Linked DNA regions of Homo sapiens: region 1 is linked to region 2. Evidence: promoter capture Hi-C in 16 types of primary human blood cells and fetal thymus (Javierre and others, 2016). All regions are on one chromosome and are shown on one strand. The core of a region is centred on a gene start or on the middle of the fragment in contact, and the rest is flanking DNA. Distances in the headings are between cores, read along the strand shown.

Evidence for each region. Contacts are between HindIII fragments. The CHiCAGO score rates a contact against its expected background, and 5 or more counts as called.
Region 1: a contact is called between a fragment that was not itself captured here and the fragment with the promoter of SHISA3 in region 2, in 1 of 17 cell types (naive CD8 T cells). The highest score is 5.6, in naive CD8 T cells.

What each region holds. Positions count from the first base shown.
Region 1 is chr4:42,872,676-42,877,225 of GRCh38, forward strand. No RefSeq gene overlaps it. Among named protein-coding and RNA genes, the nearest start is that of GRXCR1, 18 kb to the right of the region's middle. The HindIII fragment of the contact is 1,381 bases long and covers 2,041-3,421 here.
Region 2 is chr4:42,394,976-42,399,432 of GRCh38, forward strand. SHISA3 (shisa family member 3) reads left to right here and starts at 2,513. Exons shown (of 2, transcript NM_001080505.3): 1 at 2,513-3,358. The coding sequence starts at 3,082. RefSeq lists silencers at 2,257-2,336, 3,977-4,026 and an enhancer at 2,561-3,450. The HindIII fragment of the contact is 26,425 bases long and covers 1-4,457 here.

The DNA of each region.
Region 1 (4,550 bases), core at 1,481-3,980, 480 kb after region 2:
GTATTTTGATGTAGTGGAAAGAGCACTATCTTTGGGTATAGAAAATTTGGTTGAAGCAAGTCACTTAAAAATCTAAGCAATCTTGTTCATGTTTGTTAGAAGTCATCAATCTGTGGCATTAAAAGGGTGAATTTTAATGTATGTAAATTATACTTATGTGACTAGAAAAACTTAAGGAACAACTATGCTTTGCTCATTAAATATAAAAATAATACATGCTCATTTGAAAATACAGAAAAGTACAAAAAAGTAAAACCTAACCATAACACTGCAACCACAGGTAATCACATATTTATTTTCTGAGCACAGTGGGGTGAACTAATTGTACTCTACTGTTCATGGAAAACTATCATTTCTGGTCCATGGAAATCCCCTTGTTGTCTTTCATTCTTTATTCTCACTCCTATTTCTCTCCTCTATTTTATATATACCTATTGGATATATATTTGACTTATATTCAGTAGAATATGTAGAATATTGTACATATTCTACAATACCCTTGTAGAATATGTGGTATTGCTTCATGCATGAATCTGTTTTTATTCTATGTAAAAGATATGTTATTACCTTTAGAACCCATTCTATTTTGAAATTATTTTATTCAATACAAAGTATTAAGGATTTATCTGGGTTTGTGTAAATTCAGTTTATTGAGTCCCATTTCTACAAAGCAGTTTACAAATATGTTGTTTACCAGGTTCCCACAACCCCACACAATATTGAAACAAGTATCCTCATACATGTCCCCTCATGGTTCTGTGAGACAACTTCTTTTGGTTACATACCCAGGAGTGGGATTGCTGGGTCATGGATCCAGAATATCTATATCAGTGTACAAGCCCATCAGTAATTTGGGAAGATTCTCCATTCTCTGACACTTAGGTATTTAATTAGCTTTCTCTATGTATTAAAAACAGAAATTTTCCTTTTATGTAATTTACTTGTAAAGCTGTTTTACTATGGACATTTCTTCATGTTTTAAAATAGCATACTAATGTCTATATTTAAAGCCAGACATTCATTATTGTACTATCATCATTTGTTTTACTGAGATCCTTTTTGTTATATTTAGGTAAAACATACTTCTAATATAGGACACAGACAAGACTCCAGTAAAGCAGCATAATTATCAAATTAATAATTAAATAATCCACAGACACTTGAACATGAATAGGGATCCACTTTTCACTAATCTTGGAGCGTTTCTAAGTACAACTCTTTAGTTAGAAGAAACTAATGAAATGTTGAATGAAAAGATAAATGATTCAATAAATAAAATGATAAACTGACAGGAAATGAAAACTTGACTTCCAGAGCAATTATATACCATGACAGTCATGTTGCTGTGCATACATTTAGTCAATGGAAGTAAAAAACAGCCATGAGGAATATCATGTCTCTTTTGCAGAGGGAGACCAAACTTAAATGCCTAGACTCATTAGCCAGAATTACCTTAGAGTAGCATAGAATTTTAAAAATAAAATCCTTCAGTTTTAGCAATATGCTTACTTTTCTTATGCTAAACCTCCTTGCAGGTTTCCTTATGCAGTTTAGGGGACTTAAGCCAATATTTACACTCCATTCTATTCCATAGTGATTCAATATTTTTAGGTGTTTGATGTACATATCGATTATTCATCCCTTCTCTTATGCCATCTCTGATACAAATCTTTAAGGGCTAGGATGATACTTTTAGATCATCAATGATTTTCCACAAATTGACTTTGGAGAATTCAATATTGACATGCTGAACAAGACAGATCTATGAAGAAGGATTTATTTTAGCATACGCAAATTAAATAGATTCATACACTTAGATTAAGAATTGTTCTTTAAAAGAGTCTTTAACATTTAACTTCAAAATTTTCTATGATATAGAATACAAAGTGATATATATAAAAGGAATTCCAAAAACTCAAGTGTATGAAACAAACAGGATGAGGGTGTTAACAATAATTCCTTTCTAAAATGTAACTCTCTGCACTTGTTTGAAATTTAGACTTTTATGGGGGATGAGAAACTTCTGAAAAAGATGAAATAAGCTTCCATGAAAATATTATTTTTTGATGAGAGGATATAATTTGCTATGCACTGTGCTTTGCATCAGAATAATATAATTTATTTATGAAGGACAATTACTTTCCTTAAGAAGGGAGCTGAAAGCAGACTATAGACTAGGAAATATCTCATTCTTTTACTGTGTACTTACTCAGAACAAAGAGAATTATTTTCTCTGAAGAAACTCTATTTTTAGAATACCACTATTTTACACACAAATGATTCAAGGTAGGCTTACAAACTTTGGGAGGTTAAAATATTCATGTTCAAATAGTTCTGTGTTGGTATTTGAACTGCACGGTAACCTGAAGAGGAAAAAGCTGAGCAGGCCACTTTTTGGTTGGGTGAGAATTGACTTTGTTCATATACATATGGGCAGGGCCAAGGGCAATGCTAGGTACATGAGATGTGCTTAAAACATGTATGCTGAATAAATTAATGGGATGAGAAATTAAACAATTGCAATTGAAAGGGAAAAGTGAAAAGATAAAGATGAAGATTGATTTTCTGACTTTTTGAAAAGTTACTGGCATTCAACTTCAAGTCAAATGCTCCATTAATATAGGACACAGACTGGCAGGAATAACATAATAACTGGGACTAATTTTATCTTGTGGTGCCTCACTTTCACCAATCTTGAAAGCGAATATGTTAATATTTATCTTCTATCTTTATTTTTCCTATGTCTCCTTTTCTTTAGTTGTTTCATAACGTAATTTATTTTTATGTTGCTATATAAGCTACCTCATATGCATTTTTGTAGGCTTCTTTTAATCCCTATCAGAATGGGGTAGAGTAAATATGAATATAAATAATCATAGCTGTTTTATTTTAAATTAGTTCCCCTATAAGTAAGCCTTCATAAACTCTTTGTAAACAAACATTTGTAGACATATATGAAAGGTCATTATTAACACTCTCTCTGTGTATTGCTTAGTACTATTTTAAGTAAAATATAAGGTTAGTCCCCCCATTGTAAGTCCACAGCTAATGTGATCCTGGAGATCCTCATTCTGTTGGTCCATGTTAGTATTAGCATGTGACTCAAACATTTAGTGCAAGTTTTCCCATCTGTAAAATCTGTGTTTCATAATTCACTATTATCACAAATATTATGAGACTAAATAAAGTGATAGGCATTGTTATTTGTCTGTTTCACCTATGACAGGCATTGTTCTTTGTCTGTTTCACCTATTTGTTCTTTTCCATCCTCACCCCTGCCAGGGGGGATTTCCCCTACAATAAAACGTCATACTTATGCTGTGAGATGTGATCAATATTGACAAGACTGGAGCCCGTTCCTGTATAGGGGTGAGTGGAGACTGATGTAGTGGCTTTGGCCCACAGAGTGGCAACAAAATGAAGCTTGGGCCCTGGCAGGAGGGCAGAGAGGCAGAGAAGGAAGAGGGTAGCAGGGAGAAGGAAATCCTGAATGCTTTCCCAAGGCTGGTTTTATTGGAGAGAAAGATGACCCTATGGAGATCACAAAGAAATGAATGGCCCATCATCTGGATCCCAGTATGTTCCTGATGATATGCTACTAAGAATGTGCCCTTTCTGGTAATAAAATTATTTATTACTGGTTCCTCTGGATGCTGCATGACGCTAAATAAAGATTACATATGTATGAGTATTGTGGCATATGCCCATGTTTCATTGAATCTAAGATGCAATCAGCTGAAAGATACATCCTTATTTTATGAACCACTAAGAAAGGAAAAAACCCTACTAACTTAACCATGAGGCAGTATTTTATTGTCACTTGAAATTTTTATTTTAAACATGTGCAAAAAAGCTCTTCTGAATGTATTTATACATAGATTTCCCTCATTTATCACTCTTGAGTATATATATAAAGGCAAATAAATGTAAAGTAAATTTATTCAATGTTCCTAAATGTATTCATATTCAGTCTGAGTTTTCCGAATTACTTTTCCACTTAGAGTTATTGATGTATGTGCTATTTCCCTCAATGCTGTTGGTTCTTCCTGCAATCGAGGGCATTGATGATGCAGCATTTCTTAAAATCGTGCTTTGCTATTGTCTCTGGAATCTTCTTCAAAGCCAGTGACACCCAGTCTAAGCTTTAATGTGCAGGCAATAACAACTATTTCATGACTGTCACTGACTGATCTGAGGATCAGGTGTGCACCAGTTTCAGAGTTGTTAAAATGTGAAGACAAAATGCATGCTTTAGAATGGATAAAATATGGGAATAAATACTCAACAGTGCTAAGATCCTCAGGATTCTCCTTTAAGTAGCTGAACAGCATTCTAGATTGAGCTTCTCACATGCATGTGCTGGGGAACATATGTTGCAGGATTCCATAGCCTGGCGGAACAAATGATTCCTAAATTACAATAGCTCTGAACTTTCAACTGACAGATGGCAGAGCCTCAGGTTCCCCAACTCCAAAGCCTCCATGATTTCAGGAAAGGGAGAGTGCAGTGAGTCTCATATGGAAAACCACACAATATTCTGAGGCCAGCCC
Region 2 (4,457 bases), core at 1,263-3,762:
GGGAAATGATCTCTTATGATTATGTTCTTGACCAAAATAAGGAATTTGTGTTACTGAGATAAGAAACAATAAAGAATTTCCAAAACCTCTTCATAATACCCCAGATATTGTGGACTTTATTTTCTATCTCTATGTCTTCCCCCTAGAGTCTTTCAGGGGTGTCTATGAGAACTTTTTCATCTTCCTTTACTATTAAACTAGTAACAGAATAACAAAAACTTTGGATGTTTATATATCTAAAAAGAGGTGAATATTCTCTTTCTGTTGGTGAAAAGGATTCTCAGGGCATCAGTTTTGAAGTTAAAATTTGACAATGGAAAGTTTGCAGAGATCTTCTATGACAAGAAACCAAACATATCACTGCCTCCCCCCAACCCCTCGCCCAGGCAAACTCCTGAAGCTGATTGTTGTAATGGTTTTAAAGGTGCTTAGGATGAGGACCTAGATCTGAAGCATGGTGCACAGTTGTTTACTGTTCACACAAGTCAGATCTACGAAGGATCAAGTAATTTGGAGGTTTGGTTACTTTCCATTAGTAAACATCATCCAACTAAATTTGGGTAAAATGCCCTCTAAATAAGTCAAGTAGACAGGAGCTTTGAATGAGGGAATTAATTATAGCTGGTGTCTCCAGGAAAAAGAATCCCACTGTGGCATGGAGAATGTAATTAATGGGAGGTAAGTGCCAACAAATCACTCCTTAAAATATTAATGCTATCAAAGAACAGCTGGATAATGAGAGAAACTTGACCCTTGGGGGACCAGCAAAGGTTGCTGCTGCAGCAGAACTTTATGCAGTTATGACGTAATGAAATTCCTCTAAATTTTAACAAAAACTAATATTAAAAGGTGTGGTTCTGGGAAAGTTATTAGCAGTAAACATGTCATAATTTTTATCATCTGATTATAATCACTATATCTCATTTTTGCTGTGTTTCTAAGTGACATTTTCCTGTAATTGCTCAGGATATATATACAATTGAAACAACACTCCTAAAAAACAACTAGAGTTAAAAAAAAGATTAAGTCTGGCAAGACCTTTTTTTTGTAAATAAAAAACCCAATATCTAAGAAATTTCTGCAAAACAATTTCCCATATGCTTAAACTATTTAACTAAAAAACTGTTTCATTGTTTGTTATTGAAAGCTCCAACTTAATTTGTTTTTACTTAATAGCTTCGTATTGTCCTAAGAAATATGTAACTCTAAGAGAGCAATAAAGTTAAATATTTACACGGTCCCACTTAACGTGTGAAATGGACATGTATTTTCAGCAGCCACATAACTAAATGCTAATCCCAATACCTAAAATTAGAAATCAGAAGTAATTATTTAATTGGAATATACTTTAACTTAGATAAAAAAAAAAAAAAAAGAAATCGTTTTAATAGGAGATTTTTAAAAAAGTTTCTCCGGAATCGACTCGGTTCATCAGGAAGCTGCGAACGTGATAAATGCGTTTGACCGCGCACCTTGTGTCGCTGGAGCTGAGAACACTTTGTTCCTTTTGTTTCACTCAACTTGCCGACATCTAACTCAGGGACACGGGTATGCAGCTTGTTTGACAAATAAGCCGAGATACACCGAACATATTCACACATACCAATAGACGATGATTGGAAGTTCAGGATGCAGTCAAAATAAATGCTTGCGTTTGGCCCAGGTTTCACATAACACCAGTTTCATAAGGCACTTAGGCCGCTAACGGAGCAGTGCCCCTGAAAATAGCCCACAGGGGACACATCATTTAAATAAATGTGTTTCTTTCCCTGAACAGAAGTTCAGTTCTGCTCAATTATCATTAATTTTGCTCCTTTATTTCCTTTGCGGGCGTGAACGGAGAAGTCGTGCTCTTTGAGGTTTTGCGAGCTGGCCTTGGCTGGCAGAGGTGACCGGCAATCCTTCAGCCGGCGGAAAAAGTGCGAGTGTGTGTGTGTGTGTGCTTGTGAAAATGTGCCGTTCCTCCCAGAAAAAGTGGAAACGTAGGTGGAAAGCTCAGCACATGTTGGCGACACCTAAAAACCATGTTCTCGGTCCTGAACCTTTAGAAGCGGTATCCCAGGAACGAGTCTGAGTCTGTGCAACAGGGCACAGATGATTCGACAAACTTCAATGACTGCACCGCATTCATGCATTATATCCATTGAAAAGTAAATCCAGCGTCTCCACTCGCGCGCCCACGTGCGTGGATAAACGCGGGAATTCGGCAGCCCTCAACGTCACTCTGCAGAGATTTCCGGGCTGTGAGAGAGTTGGGGTGTGCGGCGGGGGAGGGGAGGGTCTGATATCTTCAGGTTGAGAGTCAAGTCCTGGGGGAGCGGCATGGGCGGGGGTGGCCGGGGGGAGGCGGAGGATGGAGCGCGAACCAGAAAGCGCAGAGGACCCTCGGCCCGCGCCGCACCCGCTGTGATTAGCTCCAGAGGCGCGATCCGGGAGGGCGGACTCTTTCTTAACCCTCATTGTCTCCTCCTCCCTCTTCCTTTTTAAAAGACGCCTTGCGGGCAGAGCTGTCAGCAACCCCGCGGCCGTTTGTACTTGGCCGCGGCGGAGCTGACTCCTGCTCCTGTGACAGATAGGGGCTGGGGCTGAGCGGCCGCCTGTCTGGGGTACTCGCACGTGGGGAACAAATTCTTTTCCTCCGGCTCCTCTCGGGACCCGGCGATCGCCACAGGTTGGGACTCTGTGCGGCGCTGGAGTTGGCAGCCCCGGGCGCTATGGCTCCCTTGAGGAGTGGGGAGGGAGGTGGCCGGGGGGTTGGCGCGCCCCTCGCGCGGGGAGCGCTATGAGCCGGGCGAAGGGCGGCAGCGACAGCCCCAGCAACTGCCTCTGCCGGCGCCTCCCGCAGGCCCTCGCCAACTCGCCCCGCGCACCATGCTGACTCCCGGCCTGCGGAACTCGTAGTGCAGCCCCTGTCGCCTCCCCGGCCCCTGCTATCCCACGCAGGACTGGCTTCGGCCGCCGGGGCCAGCAGCTTGCGACGTGTCCCTGGGGAGGCGGAATCGCTGTGCGCCCTGAGCCCGGGCTCAGCCCTTCGCTTTCCAGCTGCGTCCTGCTCCCGGCCGCCCAGGGAGCCCAGTGGCGATGAGGGCACTGCTGGCGCTTTGCCTTCTCCTTGGCTGGCTGCGCTGGGGCCCGGCGGGCGCCCAGCAGTCCGGAGAGTACTGCCACGGCTGGGTGGACGTGCAGGGCAACTACCACGAGGGCTTCCAGTGCCCAGAGGACTTCGACACGCTGGACGCTACCATCTGCTGCGGCTCCTGCGCGCTCCGCTACTGTTGCGCCGCGGCCGACGCCAGGCTGGAGCAGGGCGGCTGCACCAACGACCGCCGCGAACTGGAGCACCCAGGCATCACTGCGCGTAAGTGCGGGGCCCTCGGGGACATATCCCCGCCCGCCTAACGGCGGCGGCTGCATGTGTGCGCGGGAGGATGCACAGACCCAGGCAGGTCTATGCGCCTTCCTGGGTCTGTGCGCCAGGGGGACGCGGCCGGGTGGGGGAATCAAGGGATGAGTGGGTGGTCGCGTTTCAGATCATGGTCCTCTATTCATTTGCAGTCCCGCTTCCCGCCACTTGCGGTCTCTGCGGGTCGGCCCGCAGGGAAAGTTTGCCAGGGACAGTGAGGAGCGCGGGGCTTGTGCCTGGTAGCCGGGGGGAAGACAGCTGGAGCTCCCGGGAGAAGGGTAGTGCGGGTAAAGCCAGGGTAGACTTGGGTTTTGGTGGAGGGGCCGAGGGTGTCCCATTGCTCGCCCTTGTCACTTCGGGAGCTTCGGGAAGTGCCGAATGCAGGGAATCGCGACTCTTGTCGCGCGCTCATTTGCAGCCCTTCAGGGCTAAGAAACCCCAGTCACTTTTTTTTTCTGTCTTAATGATAGCGTTTCTAAGCCACGGCCCCGTTCTGCAGACTTCCTTTCAATTCTCTGCATCGAATTACCCTCTCCGGCCCACCCCCTATTGTCACGCCTTTCAGAAATGCCCAGGTCTTCGAGGTGGAGATTTAGAAACAAGGGTCGAAGGGGCTTCCCCGCCCCCTATTCTCACTTCGGAAAACACGGGTCAAATTTCCGCTGACTTCAGAGCGGAATAAATCACGACCCCAGCAGAGAAAATTTACACCTTGAAAAAAAGTTTTCCACCTGAATCGGAACATCAGGGAAACGCTTTAGAGCTTGAGGCGAGGGTTTTATGGCCAGGGAAACCGGAGAAGCGGGCGGAGCTGAGAGCGGGTGACACCCCAGGACTCCAGAGAGCCGAGGTCTGGAGCCCGCAAGAGAAGGTCGCCGGGAAAGGGAAGAGAGGCTGGAGAGATCATTAAGGGTTCCCCAACGGCCCCTCCCCGCAAACTGATAACCCAGAGGACAGGGGAGTCTGCCCTCCATTAGTGCTCCACTAGAGGGTGAATGTTGGGGGTCAACATTTCCAATCTAGAGGATTCTGGAAGTAGTTCTGGAGAAAAGAT